Linked DNA regions of Homo sapiens: all the other regions are linked to region 1. The links are contacts of gene promoters, found by promoter capture Hi-C in blood cells and fetal thymus (Javierre and others, 2016). All regions are on one chromosome and are shown on one strand. Each heading gives the region's core, a stretch centred on a gene start or on the middle of the fragment in contact. The rest is flanking DNA. Distances are from core to core; before and after follow the strand shown. Region 1 holds the start of LINC02521 (long intergenic non-protein coding RNA 2521). Region 2 overlaps GMDS (GDP-mannose 4,6-dehydratase). Region 3 overlaps GMDS (GDP-mannose 4,6-dehydratase). Region 4 overlaps GMDS-DT (GMDS divergent transcript).

What was found. Contacts are between HindIII fragments. The CHiCAGO score rates a contact against its expected background, and 5 or more counts as called.
Region 2: a contact is called between a fragment that was not itself captured here and the fragment with the promoter of LINC02521 in region 1, in 7 of 17 cell types (naive CD8 T cells, total CD8 T cells, naive CD4 T cells and 4 more). The highest score is 7.5, in naive CD8 T cells.
Region 3: a fragment that was not itself captured here is called in contact with the fragment with the promoter of LINC02521 in region 1 in 8 of 17 cell types (naive CD4 T cells, naive CD8 T cells, naive B cells and 5 more); the score reaches 6.8 in naive CD4 T cells.
Region 4: a contact is called between a fragment that was not itself captured here and the fragment with the promoter of LINC02521 in region 1, in 2 of 17 cell types (endothelial precursors and megakaryocytes). The highest score is 5.6, in endothelial precursors.

The regions. Positions count from the first base shown.
Region 1 is chr6:2,632,771-2,636,413 of GRCh38, reverse strand. LINC02521 (long intergenic non-protein coding RNA 2521) reads right to left here and starts at 1,914. Exons shown (of 3, transcript NR_149119.1): 1 at 1,659-1,914. LINC01600 (long intergenic non-protein coding RNA 1600) reads left to right here and starts at 1,811. Exons shown (of 3, transcript NR_131168.1): 1 at 1,811-1,849; 2 at 2,622-2,809. The HindIII fragment of the contact is 1,903 bases long and covers 1,184-3,086 here.
Region 2 is chr6:2,191,534-2,195,176 of GRCh38, reverse strand. The region is part of intron 1 of GMDS (GDP-mannose 4,6-dehydratase); the gene reads left to right. Among named protein-coding and RNA genes, the nearest start is that of GMDS, 52 kb to the left of the region's middle. The HindIII fragment of the contact is 1,113 bases long and covers 1,475-2,587 here.
Region 3 is chr6:2,209,109-2,212,751 of GRCh38, reverse strand. The region is part of intron 1 of GMDS (GDP-mannose 4,6-dehydratase); the gene reads left to right. Among named protein-coding and RNA genes, the nearest start is that of GMDS, 35 kb to the left of the region's middle. The HindIII fragment of the contact is 2,301 bases long and covers 401-2,701 here.
Region 4 is chr6:2,347,620-2,351,262 of GRCh38, reverse strand. The region is part of intron 4 of GMDS-DT (GMDS divergent transcript); the gene reads right to left. Among named protein-coding and RNA genes, the nearest start is that of GMDS-DT, 100 kb to the right of the region's middle. The HindIII fragment of the contact is 5,231 bases long and covers 1-3,643 here.

The DNA of each region.
Region 1 (3,643 bases), core at 665-3,164:
AGTTTCCATCTAGGAAGAGGAGAAAGTCCCGGAGATGGATGACGGTGATGGTTGCATAGTAATGTGAATGTACTTAATGCCATTGAACTGCACACTTAAAAAAGGTTAAGAGGGTCCATTTTATGTTAGGTGTATCTTAGCAGAACTAAAGCAAAACAGAAGGCAGTGTTAAAAACAGTGGATGACGAGCTCTCAAGGTGGTGGAGGCCATCGCCCACTTCACTTGGGGGACCCCTGCTCTCAGAAGCACACACTTCACGGGGTCACCTGGTGTTCATGCCGGCGACCTTTCTCTCCCTGCCTGTGGCCTGGCCCCAGGTCAGCATTCACCAGGTGGGGAGAGTCTGTGCAGCGCGGCGTGGGCCTTGCACGCTCCTTTTTGTGTTTGTTTGGGTTCTACTTTTCCGGACTGCGACACTTATAACTTCATTAGAAAATATCACTTTCTTCAGACCCACACATTCATTTATTAGGCACTTACGCTCCATAAAATGAAATGCACAGCAAGGCCGCTTTCATGCTTCCTTGAAGTTCTATCAACTTATTTTGGGGGCAGATTTGACCTGTCAGAGCACTTCCTCCGTGGGAGCTCCATATCTAAATATGTGCATATATAGTTTTCTACTTTACTGACGGTAGCTTTCATAAAGCCGCTTGAAGTACTTACTAAAAATCCATCTTAAGACTCTTTCTGCATTTTGGGAGGCCGAGGCGGGTGGATCACCTGAGGTCAGGAGTTTGAGACCAGCCTGGCCAACATGGTGAAACCCGGTCTCTACTAAAAAATACAAAAAATAGTCGGGCATGGTGGCGGGTGCCTGTAATCCCAGCTCCGTACTCCAGAGGCTGAGGCAGAAGAATCGCTTGAACCCAGGAAGCAGAGGTTGCAGTGAGCCAAGGTCGCGCCATTGCACTCCAGCCTGGGTAACAAGAGTGAAACTCTGTCTCAAAAAAAAAAAAAAAAATCTTCCCCACACATAATGTGGCAGGACAGGAAACACTAGGATTCCTCCAGTTTATGGGGAGATTGGGAGAGCTGAGGCTTCACAATGACACAGCCGGGTATGGAAAACACCAAAAGAAATATGCCTTTTTGGATGACAATACTCCACCCCAATTTCCAAGTATGCTACAACTTTTCCTCAGCCTCGATGGGAGGTATTTACAGTGAGTGGTAGAAGCTTTACTGCAATGCCCTGGTAGACACAGGCTCCACCAGGCTTGGCTTCTACACTCTCACTGGGTCTATGGATGAGCACAGAAGCCAGGTTTCTGGCTCACAGAGAACCTAAGTGCTGAGTTTATATATAAAGTGCACAGTGTGAATAATTAAATATGAAAACGTGTACACACCAAACAGGACATTTTTACTTAATGCCAAAGAAGCACAAACGACCCTTTCTTTTGGGAGTTTCACAAGCATTTCTGCTCAACAGTAATCCCCCAGTGACAGTGATAGTAGTGGTTTCAATATTTTGTTTATAAAAAGCAACATTATAAAATGCCCTGAAAGGTCTTGGCTTCTTTTGTGAGCTCTGAACTATTCAGAAATTCAGCTTGCTATCTGGGGACAACAAATAAATCCCTACTCTAAAAAAATGGGATTCGGGTTTTTCTCCTGTGCTGCTTCCTGGCCTTAACGCTTCCTGGGGACTTACCGTCATTTGCTCAGTTACGGTTTCTATGGGATGAGTGGGGAAGCCGCGTGGTGAGGAAGCCTGGCTCGCACCCGGCCTGCGCTCTCTCGGGCCTGGCCGCATCGGCCACCAGGGGGCAGTGTTGTCATTCGCTGGCGACGCCGCCCCGCCCCGAGCGGATGCCACCCCGTTTCCAGCCTCCGGTGCTCACCGTAAGCTCTGTTATTATTATCTTTTGATTTATAAAGCGCCGTTCCTCAGCAGATTCCCCGCCCCCCAGCTGCTTCCGAGAAAGCTCGCAGAAGCGTTCGTGCGCAGGCGCGGAAGCCCCGCACAGCACGCGGTGGGCCCGGTTCGGGGGGGCGCACGGCCTGGGGCGTCGGGAAGAGGCTGCGGGCAGCGGGGCCTGCGGGCGCGGCGTGGCGGGGCGGGAAAACGGCTCTGTCCCGTGGGGCGCAGGCAGGAACGTGTTCCCATAAAAGACACAGGGAAGACCAACCCTGGGCGTTAGCCATCCAAACCTTCCCTCCCGTGCGAAACCCGCTGCCCTGCGGCCAGGACTGTGAGGGAAGCGATGGGAGGAACCCGGGAGCCCGCGAAGGCCGGGCCCCAGAGTCCGGGCGCCCCTGAGCGGGGCGGAGGGGACAAATAGAACCTTTTTAAGGACAGCTGAAAGAGATTATAAGCGCGGTGTGCTGGGACTTTGGAAAGGGCGCGAGTCATTAGTGGGGGCGAATCAGAGGGGAGTATGTTGACGGGATAATAACAAAAATAAAGAGGCTTGATAAGAAAGACACGGCTTTTGGAGTCAAAGGGAAAATCCGGGACAATGAGGGTTGGCAGGTTCCTGGGACACAAACCAGGAAAAACAGGGCCACACCGGAGCGGCCTGCCTGGCTCCAGCACAGCCGGTGCAGAAGCTAATTTTGTTCCGAGTCCTCCTAGCTCAACAAACATGCCGCCATAGCACCTATTTTCTTTTAGGTAATGCTCACAACAACCTAGCAAAGTGGGGATCATCTTCACCACTGTACAGATGAAGAAATTGAAGGTCAGACATTCAAGGTTATGTGGCCACATGAGAGAAATACCAGAGCTGGGATGAAGACTCAACGGCTCTCAGACACCAGGTTGCTTCTTGAGAGAAGCCGGATGGATGTGCATGCAGGGAGGTGAGCCTCAAAGCAGGTCCAGCTTTCTCCCGTGAGTGTTCCAGTGGCTTAGGGTTAGGGTTAGGGTCCAGAGGAGGAGAGGCGTCCAGAGCTGGGGCCGTCTGCGTTTTGCCTTGCTGTCCCAGAGTGGCAGCGAGGAGTGGCCTGGCCTAGAGGGTCTTTGTCTTATCTTGTGACTTGCTGTTTCTCCTCTGTCTGCAGGAGCTGGGGGAGGTTGGAGAAGCCGCAGCCCAGAAGGGGAGGGAGGACACCATGTCAGAGCTTGCTGGAGCAAGCTTTGGAGGAAGGCCACAGGGGACATTGTCACCAAGGGCCACGGCAGCGTGCACCCTGGGTTAGAGAAAGGGGCAAATTATGGATATGAAAAATGCTTCCCTCAATGAAAAGGACCCTGCTGAGACAGGATGGCTGTGGGCCAAATACCCCTACAGTGCCTGATTCTTTTATCTTATTATTTATTTAAACAAGACCAGCATTTTGCTTTAGATAGAAAATCTCTCTCTGCTACAAAATTGCAAGCCCTGGGAAAAGTCTCCAAGAATGGCTGATGCCACAGTCAAACAATAACATACATGTCGGGGTGAAACAGTGCACAGAGGATGAAAAAAGGGAAAAGCTCGAGGCCCCGGGAGGAAGGAGCTGGGAGGGTGGAGGGCGTGGAGGTGTGAGGGCCCAGAGGGATTGCCCAGGAAGGTATGGAGGACCGAAAATGGATCACCAGCCCTCATGGACAACTTAAACTAAAGGTGGAAAAGACAGAAAAGCTGGCAGGGGGAATTGTCTCCAGCCAACCTGTCAACTTTTGGAAAAAGATGGATCACAAAGAATGGGAAG
Region 2 (3,643 bases), core at 782-3,281, 440 kb after region 1:
TTTTTTCTTTATACTAAGTCTGGTTAAAGCTTTTACTGGAGAAAAGATGCAAGCTTTTAAGCATGTGTTTTAAAATTACTATGATTTTACCCTTGCTAACTTCATGTGTGTATAATTACCTCAGAAAGGAAACAAAGATTTTTATTGATATTATTTAAAATAATGTTTTCTTTTTCTTTTTAGCAAAGTACAGGCTGATAATTCCAAAGGCTGTTTAAGGGGTAATTGTGGCTGACAGAGCAGCATTCACGGAACATCACTACTGTGCTTGGCTGGAACAGTGTCACTGTGTCTGAAAGTCTTGATAATGTTCAGTTGACTGTACTAATTGTCCTGTTTTATGCATGGCTAGCCAAGTGGTAACCAAGAGTTTTAAACAATGGATCTTTATTAAGGTATTAATTTTTGTCAAGGAAACTGACGTGATTTGAAAGAATGTTTACTGTGTGTGACACGTGTGGAAGAAATTGTTTGTGTTTTCCCCTCTTCCATGTTTAGGAAATAAAATAACCAAAAAGTGTGTGCGTGTAGCACTTTTTAACCTTAATTGTCTTTTATTTATATTGGTATCTTGATATAAAAATTGAAATTTGTTATAATGATAAAGAAATTAGAGATGTGAAACATGATTGATAAAGTAAGGAAGTAAAATTGGTAAAAATGCTTAAAGATATAATTTAGTGTTATAATACTTTTAGCTGAAATGTTTATTTATTGGGTTTAAACAACTATATATGTATGTGTGTATGTTTAAAATATATTCCATGAGGAATCGACCTTTAAGAATCATGAAGCATATTTTCCCCAACTTTCTTCACTCTTCTTTACAAGTCTTAATTTTTTGTATTGTGAATATTATAATGCCATTTCTCTCTGCTTTAATGTTCTTTTAAAGAACATTCAAAGATTACAGTGATTTAAAAAATTAACCTTGAACTCAAGAAGAACTCAATGGAGAATACAGAAGCACCTTAATCAATAGATGCCTTTTCCTCCCCTCACACACACACACAGTCCAAACTGCTGACAGAGCTGAGATTAAGCCAGGATTTCCTGAGGCATGGGAACTACCTAACTTGACTTACATCATGCTGAATTGAGAAAGACACATCATATTTATAATGCTTCTTTTTTTTTAAAAAAAAATAGCATTTTTGGCTGGACGCGGTGGCTCACGCCTGTAATCCAGCACTTTGGGAGGCCGAGCGGGTGGATCATGAGGTCAGGAGATGGAGACCATCCTGGCTAACATGGTGAAACCCCATCTCTACTAAAAATACAAAAAATTAGCTGGGCGTGGTGGTGGATGCCTGTAGTTCCACCTACTTGGGAGGCTGAGGCAGGAGAATGGCGTGAACCTGGGAGGTAGAGCTTGCAGTGAGCCGAGATCGCGCCACTGCACTCCAGCCTGGCAACAGAGCGAGACTCCATCTCAAAAAAAAAAAAAAAAAAAAAATAGCATTTTCACTAAGCTTCCACTATTCCAGGAATCCATCTGGCTATTTCATGTGTATTTGCCACCTTTACAATCCTAAAATGAAATTTGTGAATAACATATCCTAATTACACATGTTATTTAAAAAAATCCATATACCCTTTTTATGACAGTGAAAAAGGAAATGAAAAGCAAGTTGTTTGCCAGGAGAACTTGCATCTCAGTATTCAGATGTGGAGACCCTGCTGCCTAGGGTGTGGAGGAACTGCTCAGAGGCCACACTTTGGGAGCATCCCTGCTGTGGCAGCTGCAGATGCAGACTGTGGCACGTGGATGGCAGTGGAGACTCAGCAAGCACTGGTGGTGTGCTGTTGGTGTCATTGTTTCTTGAAATGGTCAAATTTGGTTAAATTTGGAATAAAATGGTAGTCTTCCTGTTTAACACATACTTTGTAACACATACGTTGTGCCTATGTAATAACTTGAGTGAGGTTTTACGCTCAGACAATTATAAACAGGTTTTTTACCCACGTGAATATTCAGCAGGACTTGAGGAAGTTGTGAGGAATGCAGAAGTCTTTGGCCGTGCAGACTGTCCTGGGTGTCTTAGGACCTCTAGTGTTCCTGGTTTCCACCCACTCAGTGCCAGTAGCATCCCCCAGTGATTGTGACAACTGAAACGTTCACAAATTCCCAAAACCCTCCTTAGGGATCCTGGGATGAGGGCTATCAGAGCCAATGGTTAAGCCCTAGCACATTTCTCTGCCACTTTCTGGAAATAGTGTTACAGGATCTTTGGGGTGTCATTTTTCTGGTTGGAAAGCTGTGGCCAGTGGTGTCTTTGTCCAACTTTTGTTTGGGCCTGCTGGGCTTGTTCCTCCCACTTGGCCTGGCAGGCTGCACTTAGCTCATGGTACCGGCCTGGATCCCACACCTCCAAGGGAGACTGAGTCAGGCGTGGACTGGCAAGACGTGTGTGAGTGAGTGCGGGGTTGGGCTACTGCACAGTCAGACATGCTGGCTGCTGCTGTGGGGCTGTCAGCTCTAGGTGCCAGCATGGGCACTGGCTCTCTGTGAGGCTGCGGCTGGACCAGGTGCACTGCAGACAGCTTCCCCAGCTGGCACCAAGGAATGCAATGGCTCCCAGAAGCTTGGAGATGCCAGGAACCATGGGGCCCCAAAGAAGGAGTCACAGCCCTGGCTTGGGGAGCTCCCAGGTCAGGGCTCCTTGAAGGACCACAGCTGTTCTCCCCTCTTCACCTGCAATTTGATGAGTGAGGAGCATGTTTCAGCCCTGTGTGTGTTACAGCTCTTTTAGCCTTGCCATTTAGTGGGTCCTGAGTTCTTGTCTTGTGACCAGGAAGACTGAGGTACGCAGACAAGTGGAGGGTGAGCAAGGCAAAGAGGAGCTTTATTGAGTAATAGAACAGCTCAGAGAAGACCCACAGTGGGCAGCTCCTCTCCATAGCCAGGGTGTCCCGATGAGTGTTCAGCTCCTAGCAGAGAGGGTAGCTCCTCTCTGCAGCTGGTCATCCCAACAAGTGTTCAGCTGTCAGCAGAGAGGGTAGCTCCTGTAGTCTGCAGCTGTCGGCACAGAGGAGGCCCTAGAGTGGGTGGCTTCTCTCTGTAGGCAGCTTGTCCCATTGTCTCTGCAGCTCTTAGCAGAGAGAGTAGCTCCTCTCTGCATCTGGTCATCTCATCTTCTCCCCATCCCCTGCCCTGCTCTAGCTGAGCCCGGGGCTTTTATGGGCCTCAGAGTGGAGGAAGTGTGTGCCAGTTGGTCCATGGGTGGTCATGGGCAGGCCCAGAAAAGTCACCATAAGCCTGCAGTGTGGTCTGTGGGACTGGTGGCCTGGCTCCCAGCCTTCATGCCCTCCCTGGCCTGAAGGTGGGGTCTCACCAGGGACCTACCCCCTTCCACCCCGGAGCCTGTCTGCTTCCTGCCATGGTCTGTGGTACCCAGGCTGCTCATCCATGGGGTACCTGCAGGCCAGCATCAAGCTGCTCTCAGTGTCCCCCTAGGTTCCACATCCCATGCTTGTCAGCACACAGAGTCTGGAGGGAGCTGAGGTGGCAGGACCCTCACATACCTGGCTGGGCTGTGACAGCTCCCCGGCTTGGCCCCAACCCCATTCGGAGATCATAGCAGGTGCCTGGAGCGGGGAGAGGCCAGACAGTGGAGGTAGGCACCTCCGAGCCTGCAAGGGC
Region 3 (3,643 bases), core at 302-2,801, 420 kb after region 1:
AAGCTCAATGTTTCTAATTTAGTTTTTTTTTTTTTTTTTTTTTTACAAGTTAATCTAATTTTGGTATAAGTGGAAAAGTTGATAATTAAAGAAAGCAGGTCCTTTCTAACACAAAGACCACTAAGGATGTTTTCTCCAGCAATTCTTAATAACTTTATAGTTTTTATTCCCTTGCAAAACATGGGTTTGGGGCTGTGCAGTTAGAGAATATGTATTGTTTAAGTGTAAATTTTAAGCACATAAGGAATATCCTATAACTTGTATTATTATCTAAAAATTGTTGTAATGTTTTTGAGGTTTTGTCCTGTTGATTTTTTTGTTGCTCTTTCTTTTTAGGAAAAATTCTTTGAAATGTTGGTCCTGCAATGCTCGCTGCTTGAAGCAGTGTTTTGTCTAAGCTTGGGTGGATTCTGAATTGTTAACATGTCTGTATGCTTGCCTGCTTAAGTTTTTGACAAAGACCTTCTTGAACTCTTAACTTTCCCAAGTAGAAAATAACAGTAGAGCCACTGCAGGAGTTAGTTGAGATATTGCTATTTTATAATTGAATTCATATGTTAAAAGCTCCAGGTTTGAAGTAGTATAACTTTTCTTTATCATATCACAAAATATCACATCTACTTGGCTTCTTAATCAATTGAATTACAGAGAAATGTAACACAGGTTCTAAATTAAAAACAAATAGGTACTATGACATTAAAATTCCCTGCACAGTTATACTATATTTACTTACTTGAATGAACTGTAATTAAAAAGAGATGGGTTAAATTATTACCAATTGTTGAAGGTTTAGTTAAATTTTAGGTGACGAAACTGTGAAAAGGGATAGGAAAGTCATATTTTTGGAAGGCTTTTATGTATAATGTCTTACAAGAGTACCTAGTTCCTACTTTGGCTCACCTAAAAGACTGGAAGTCGTAAACTTGGTAACATTGTTTTCAAATTGAATAAATATTTCATGGGAATTTAGAATTCTGGGCTCATTCTCACTAATGTCTGTTTTCTGACCCTACGGCATAGATTATTTAAAAACTACTAACATGAAATACGTATTTTTTCCTGCCTTACGTGTTCTTTGGGAGTTAAAAAATTTTTTCTAGTTATTTTTGGTGGGGAAGATCTTGCTACAAAGAGGAGTGAGACTATTTGAGCATTTCAAATAGACCTATTTGAGCATCCTTTTGGTTTATTTTGAACATCTTTTGATGTAGGGTCTATTTTTTAAAAAAACATATAGGGCAGATGTTACTATTAATTAGTCTTATCTAAAGTTTAACATGCAAATTAGAGAATTGTAGGAGAAAGTAATTGAAAGTGTTATACACATTAAAAATAAGCAGATGTCATTTGGAAAACAAATAGATACTTGAGATTATTTTATTACTTCTTCAGCAGGTATTTGCTGAACACCCACTATGTTCAGGTGGGAATGAACGTGGTAGACATGGCCCCAGACGTCAAGTACGTGTGTAAGGGGCGTTAGTAATGCACATCCCCAAAAAACATTCCTCTTACTCTTCTAGTGTGGTGGCAGAGGAAAGACAGAAGTAAACAAACCAGAGCTGTTTTGGGTAATCACTGTGTTAGTCCGTTCTCACACTGCTATAAAGAGCTACCTGAGACTGGGTAATTTATGAAGAAAAAGAGGTTTAATTGACTCACAGTTATGCAGGCTGTACAGGGAGTATGCCTGGGAGGCTGCAGGAAACTTGCAATCATGGTGGAAGGGCGAAGGAGAAGCAAGCACATCTTCACATGGCATCAGAAGAAACAGTGAAGGGAGAAGTGCCACACACTTTTAAACCATCAGATCTCATGATAACTCATTATCACGAGAACAGAAAGGGGGACATCCGCCCCCATGATCCAATTATCTCCCACCAGGTCCCTCCCTCAGTGCTGGGAATTACAATTCAACATGAGATTTGGATGGGGACACAGAGCCAAACCATGTTAGTCACTAAGTGCCGTGAAAGGGATGAACTACATGTGGTGTGATAGGGCAGAGGGTGGGTGTAGACCCTCCAGGTGCCGTGCCCAGAGATGCGGGTTCAGGAGGAGACACCACTGCCCATGGCCCACCTCTGTCTGTCTCTTACCCCACCTTGGGAGTAAGCAGACCTTTCCTGGGAGCCCCTAGCTGATTTCCTTTCCCACCTTGGGAGTAAGCAGACCTTTCCTGGAAGCCCCTAGCTGATTTCCTTTCCTGTCTCATTGGTCTGAAATGAACCCCATACTCATGTCTTAGCCCGTCCATTCTCGAGGCACTCCTGGGGCTGCGTTACACCAGGAAAGGATGGGTAAGCACATTGGGGATTTTGTTAGATAACTTGGTAGTTAACAAACCCTGACCACTACAGGTTTTCTTAATAATAGGTAAAATATATTGAGCACTTACTATTTGCCAGGCTAAGTGTTCTAAGTATTTTATGTGCATTATGCCATTTAATCCTTTTAACAGTGTGCTAAGGTAGGTGCAGAAACTGAGGCTTATGGAGATGAACTTGGCCTGCCTTGTGTGGTGGACCTGGGATGCTAACTGGGCACTCTGGTTTCAGAGCTTGCATCCTTAAAATGCAATCTGTGGAAAGTAGGAAATAGATTTTTGAAATATTCTGTACAAATTTGTTGATTATAATAAAGGCACTCAGGAGCTAAATTGGTTACTTTCAGTAGCTAGAAAATTTATTTATATGAAGCTTTGTTTTCTCTAGTGTAGAATAGTGATTATCTTTTTCACTAATTACATACAACAGAATATATCACCTTTCTATATGTTAAGGCTGTCTTGTTTACGGATCATTTCACGCTAGGTTTTGGGTCCTTTGGGTAAGGAGTGTGTGTTCTATCTTCCTGTGCCTGGCAGCCATGGTAGTGTGAGCTGGGCTCTGTTAGCCTCTTGGTTTATCTGAAACAGCTTAAGAATCTGTCTTAAGCCTAGCATTAAACATTGTGGTAAATCGTATTAGAACCCCGAAGATAGATTTTCCTCCCAATTTTAAAATTATTTTTTCTTACGTGTCCTTTTTTAGGGCCACTTACTGGCTTCTAGAGGTTTTATAAATGCACGTTTGATAATGCTAAACATAGGTAAAATAAGCAGAAGTTTTCTAGAATTCAGTCCAGAGAGAGAGAGAGAGAGAGAACGTGTGTGTGTGTGTGTGTGTGTGTGTGTGTGTGTATGTGTATGTGTATGTATGTGTATTAGAGATACATTACATGCAAGGTTTGACTTGGCACTTGAAAACTGACAGCAGGTGTGTGAGTACCCACTGTGGTCAAGGCATCTTGGCTAACACCTGCCTATTGTGCGGGACTACTCCCCCTGCAGGGGGAAGGTGAGCTAGTCAGCCAGTTCTGGCATTTGCCATTGAGCTGAGGCTGCTTAAAACATCAGATCTGCAGAGTACATTGTGTTCAGTGGCCCAGACTTTTTTATTTCCTTAACTAGTAGCCTCTACCCCCACAGTATGTACTAATTTCAGGTTCACTGTGGGGCAACCAGTGCTCTTATTTTTTCAACCAAGTGTATTTTGGGTTCCCATCATTTAAAATAAAGGATATTTTAACACCAGAATAGTTAGGAAGTAATCTCAAAAGATGTTATAAGAAGTCTGATTATGGAGTCATGGGCTTATCTAAT
Region 4 (3,643 bases), core at 498-2,997, 280 kb after region 1:
AAGTGGATTACCCTTGGGCCCTCTATCAAGATGGCTTCATGTCTGGATTCCAGGTGACTTGGATAGTTTTCACTCTACTAAACCACACTACCTATAACGCACCTGATCTCCCTTGAGTGTCAGAGTTGGACATCCTGCCCTGTAGCACCATAACGACAAGAGAACCCAATCTTGTAGAGTCAGTGTGATGGTCTGGGGACATAGGAAATGCCTCTTTCTACACAGAAGGAAGATTATATTACGTAGTCCTGGTGAGTTTTTTCCCCATAATTGTCATCCAACATAAACGTCAGTCTCCATACATACGGCCAACAAACACGTGAAGAAATGCTCAGCATCACTGATCACCAGAGAAATGCAGGTCAAAACCACAATGAGACACCATCTCACACCAGTCAGAATGGCTATGGTTAAAACGTCAAAAAAATAACAGATGCCGGTGAGGCTGCAGAGAAAAGGGCATGCTTATACACTGCTGGTGGGAATGCAAATTAGTTCAGCCCCTGTGGAAAACAGTTTGGAGATTTCTCAAAGAAGCAAAAATAGAATTACCATTCAACCCAGCAACCCCATGACTGGGTATACACCCAAAGGAAAATAAATCACAAAAGACACCTGCCCTTGTATGTTTATCACAGCACTGTTCTCAACAGCAAAGACATAGAAACAACCCAGGTGACTATCAATAGTAGATTGGATAAAGAAAATGTCAGCCGGGCGCGGTGGCTCACGCCTGTAATCCCAGCACTTTGGGAGGCCGAGGCGGGTGGATCACGAGGTCAGGAGATCGAGACCATCCTGGCTAACAGGGTGAAACCCCGTCTCTTTTAAAAAACACAAAAAAATTAGCCGGGCGTGGTGGCGGGCGCCTGTAATCCTAGCTACTCGGGAGGCTGAGGCAAGAGAATGGCATGAACCTGGGAAGTGGAGCCTGCAGTGAAGCCGAGATCACACCACTGCACTCCAGCCTGGGCGACAGGGCGAGACTCCTCTCAAATAAATAAATAAATAAATAAGAACGAAAAAATATCAAACTTATACACCACGGAGTACTACAAAGTCACAAAAAAGAATGAACACGTCCCCTGAAGCAACATGGATGCAGCTGGAGGCCATTATCCTAAGCGAATTGACACAGAAACAGAAAACCAAATACTTCATGTTCTCACTTCTTTTTTTTTTCTTTTGAGACAGGGTCTTGCTCTGTCTCAAAAGCCCAGCCCAGGCTGCGGTGCAGTGGTGTGATCACAGCTCACTGCAGCCTCAATCTCTCAGGATCAAGCAATCCTCCCACCTCAGCCTCCAAAGTTGCTTGGACTACAGGTGTATGCCACCATGCCCAGGTAATTTTTTAAAAATTTTGTAGAGACAGTGTCTTGCCATGTTGCCCAGGCTAGTCTCAAACTCCTGGGCTCAAGTGGTCCTCCCACCTTGGCCTCCCAAAGTGCTGGGATTATAGGCATGAGCCGCCACACCCGGCCTGTTCTCACTTATAGGCTAAACCAATGTTTAGCTTCACCACAAAAGGACATGAAGACGGGAAAAATAGACACTGGGGACTCCAAAAGGAAGGAAGCTGGGGGCATGGGCTGAAAAACTACTCATCGGGTACTATGTCTGCTACTCGGGCAATGGGATCATTAGAAGCCCAAACCTCAGCATCACACAATATACCCTTGTAACAAACCTGCACCTGTGCCCCCGAATCTAAAATAAAAAGTAAAATTGAAAAACAAATACATACATAAATAAACAAAATGGAAAAAAAAAGAAATGTCAATCTCCCCTTCAAAATGCAAGGTTAGGACATTTTCTCAGCTGACTACTGAGCTCCCAAGGTTTTTATTTTAAACTAAATTTAATGTTGACAAATATTTACAACTATTTCCATTTGGATGCTGTATATACTCTATACTACTGTAGCTGTTATTAAGAATATTATGTCTATCATTTTTCTCCAAAAATTTCAGAATGTTCTATTAAATCCTAACACAAATTTCCCTCAACCCTACATTGCCCCATAATCCTTATCTTGGGTGTTCCTCAAATATAACAAAAGAGGCTAAGGTACACAGCCAGCCAGAGCAGGCAACGCGATTATGAATGCAGGGTCCTCTGACACCGCAGGAGACAGTCCCCCACCCCCGGTATGCATTTAATATTACAATTCCATTTGCAGAATAGATCTCTCCCTACTAAATTTGCAGGATTGGTGTCAGAGAACAGGAAGAGCCCAAAGGTTGTGGTTAAGGGCTGAGAGACACAAAAAGCCTATGGATTACTTGAAATCCCAATGACTTGTGAGTTGTTACCGTGAGGAGGTTGAACAAAGGCAGCAGGGTTCAATGTATAAAGAGTGTCTACTAGCAGCTGATGAGGACGGCCATCTGCAGTTAAGCTAATTCATCTTGAGTGTTTAAGCATAACAGGACATCATGCCCTTTGTCCTTCTACACAACTCCTTCATTGATATGAATCAAGGAATTTTTGTCATTTTTTTCTGTTCTCTGTGTGTGTGTGTGTGTGAGCGCGCACGCGCATGTGTGTGTAAGATGGGAAGATCTTTCCAGTTTAAGATATCCCAAAGTGTCCTTGTCCATAGGTGGTTGACTGGGGAGTGGGCTACCCAGCTGTTTGATCTGCAGGGCCACAGTTTACTTTGGATCTTGCCTCGTTTTTGTTCTAAAGCCCTTGCAACATGCTGTGCCTGGTGTTGTTGCTCATCTCAGGTGGCTATTCTCCATGCTCATTTCTGTTTTTGAATTAGGTCTCCAACTTCAGGTTCAATTCCATTGACAAAGCCAGATGAAAGGGCTGTTGCTCCCTCAGCACCTCTGTAACGCTCAGCTGTCATCCAAAGTTGCTTTCTAGTCTATCTCGGAAATCTCCTATAGTGTCATCTTTTTTCTTTGTTTGTTTGCATGATTGAATTATGCTCCAGCAGATTTGTTTTGAAAACATTTGGGGTATGACTTTTAGGGCACTTGACCTACATTTTGGGTAGGTCCCTTTTTTTGACTGTCAGGTTTATTGTGGAAAGGGGAATCCTATAAGGCATCGTTCCTGGTCAGTCCAATCAGCTTTTACCCTCCAACCTTTAGCATCGGAGGTTCTGACCAACATGTGTACACGTTGACAAATGTACAAGGTACCCATGTGTACAACATGTGTACAAAGTCAGGGGTCCCTGGGTCATATGCCTCCAGAGGAATTCTAAACTTTTCTAATAAATATTTGCTGGTCTTCTTTGGCTTTAAGGAAATCATTTTTTTTTCAACTTAAAAAAAAATACAGACAGGGTCTCACTGTGTTGCCCAGGCTGGTCTCAGACGCCCGGGCTTAAGCAATCCTCCTGCCTCAACCTCCCTAAGTGCTGAGATTACAAGCATTAGGGAAATCTTTAATTATACCTCTTAATTCAGCCCAGGCCCAAGGCTTAAGTCTACAGTTTCCCCACATAACTGGTTTGAAAGAGGAGTTTTAGGAGGGTTGTTTGGGAAAAGTAGGAGGTCTGGACCAAGGGAAGATGAGGGAGGCGGTGTGGGTGTGGAAGGACAGTGATCAGAGCATAAAAGGAAAAGAGAGCTGGATATTAGGAGACAACCAAGGGAGCATGGAGGGGGAGGTTTTCCAGAAAAATGAG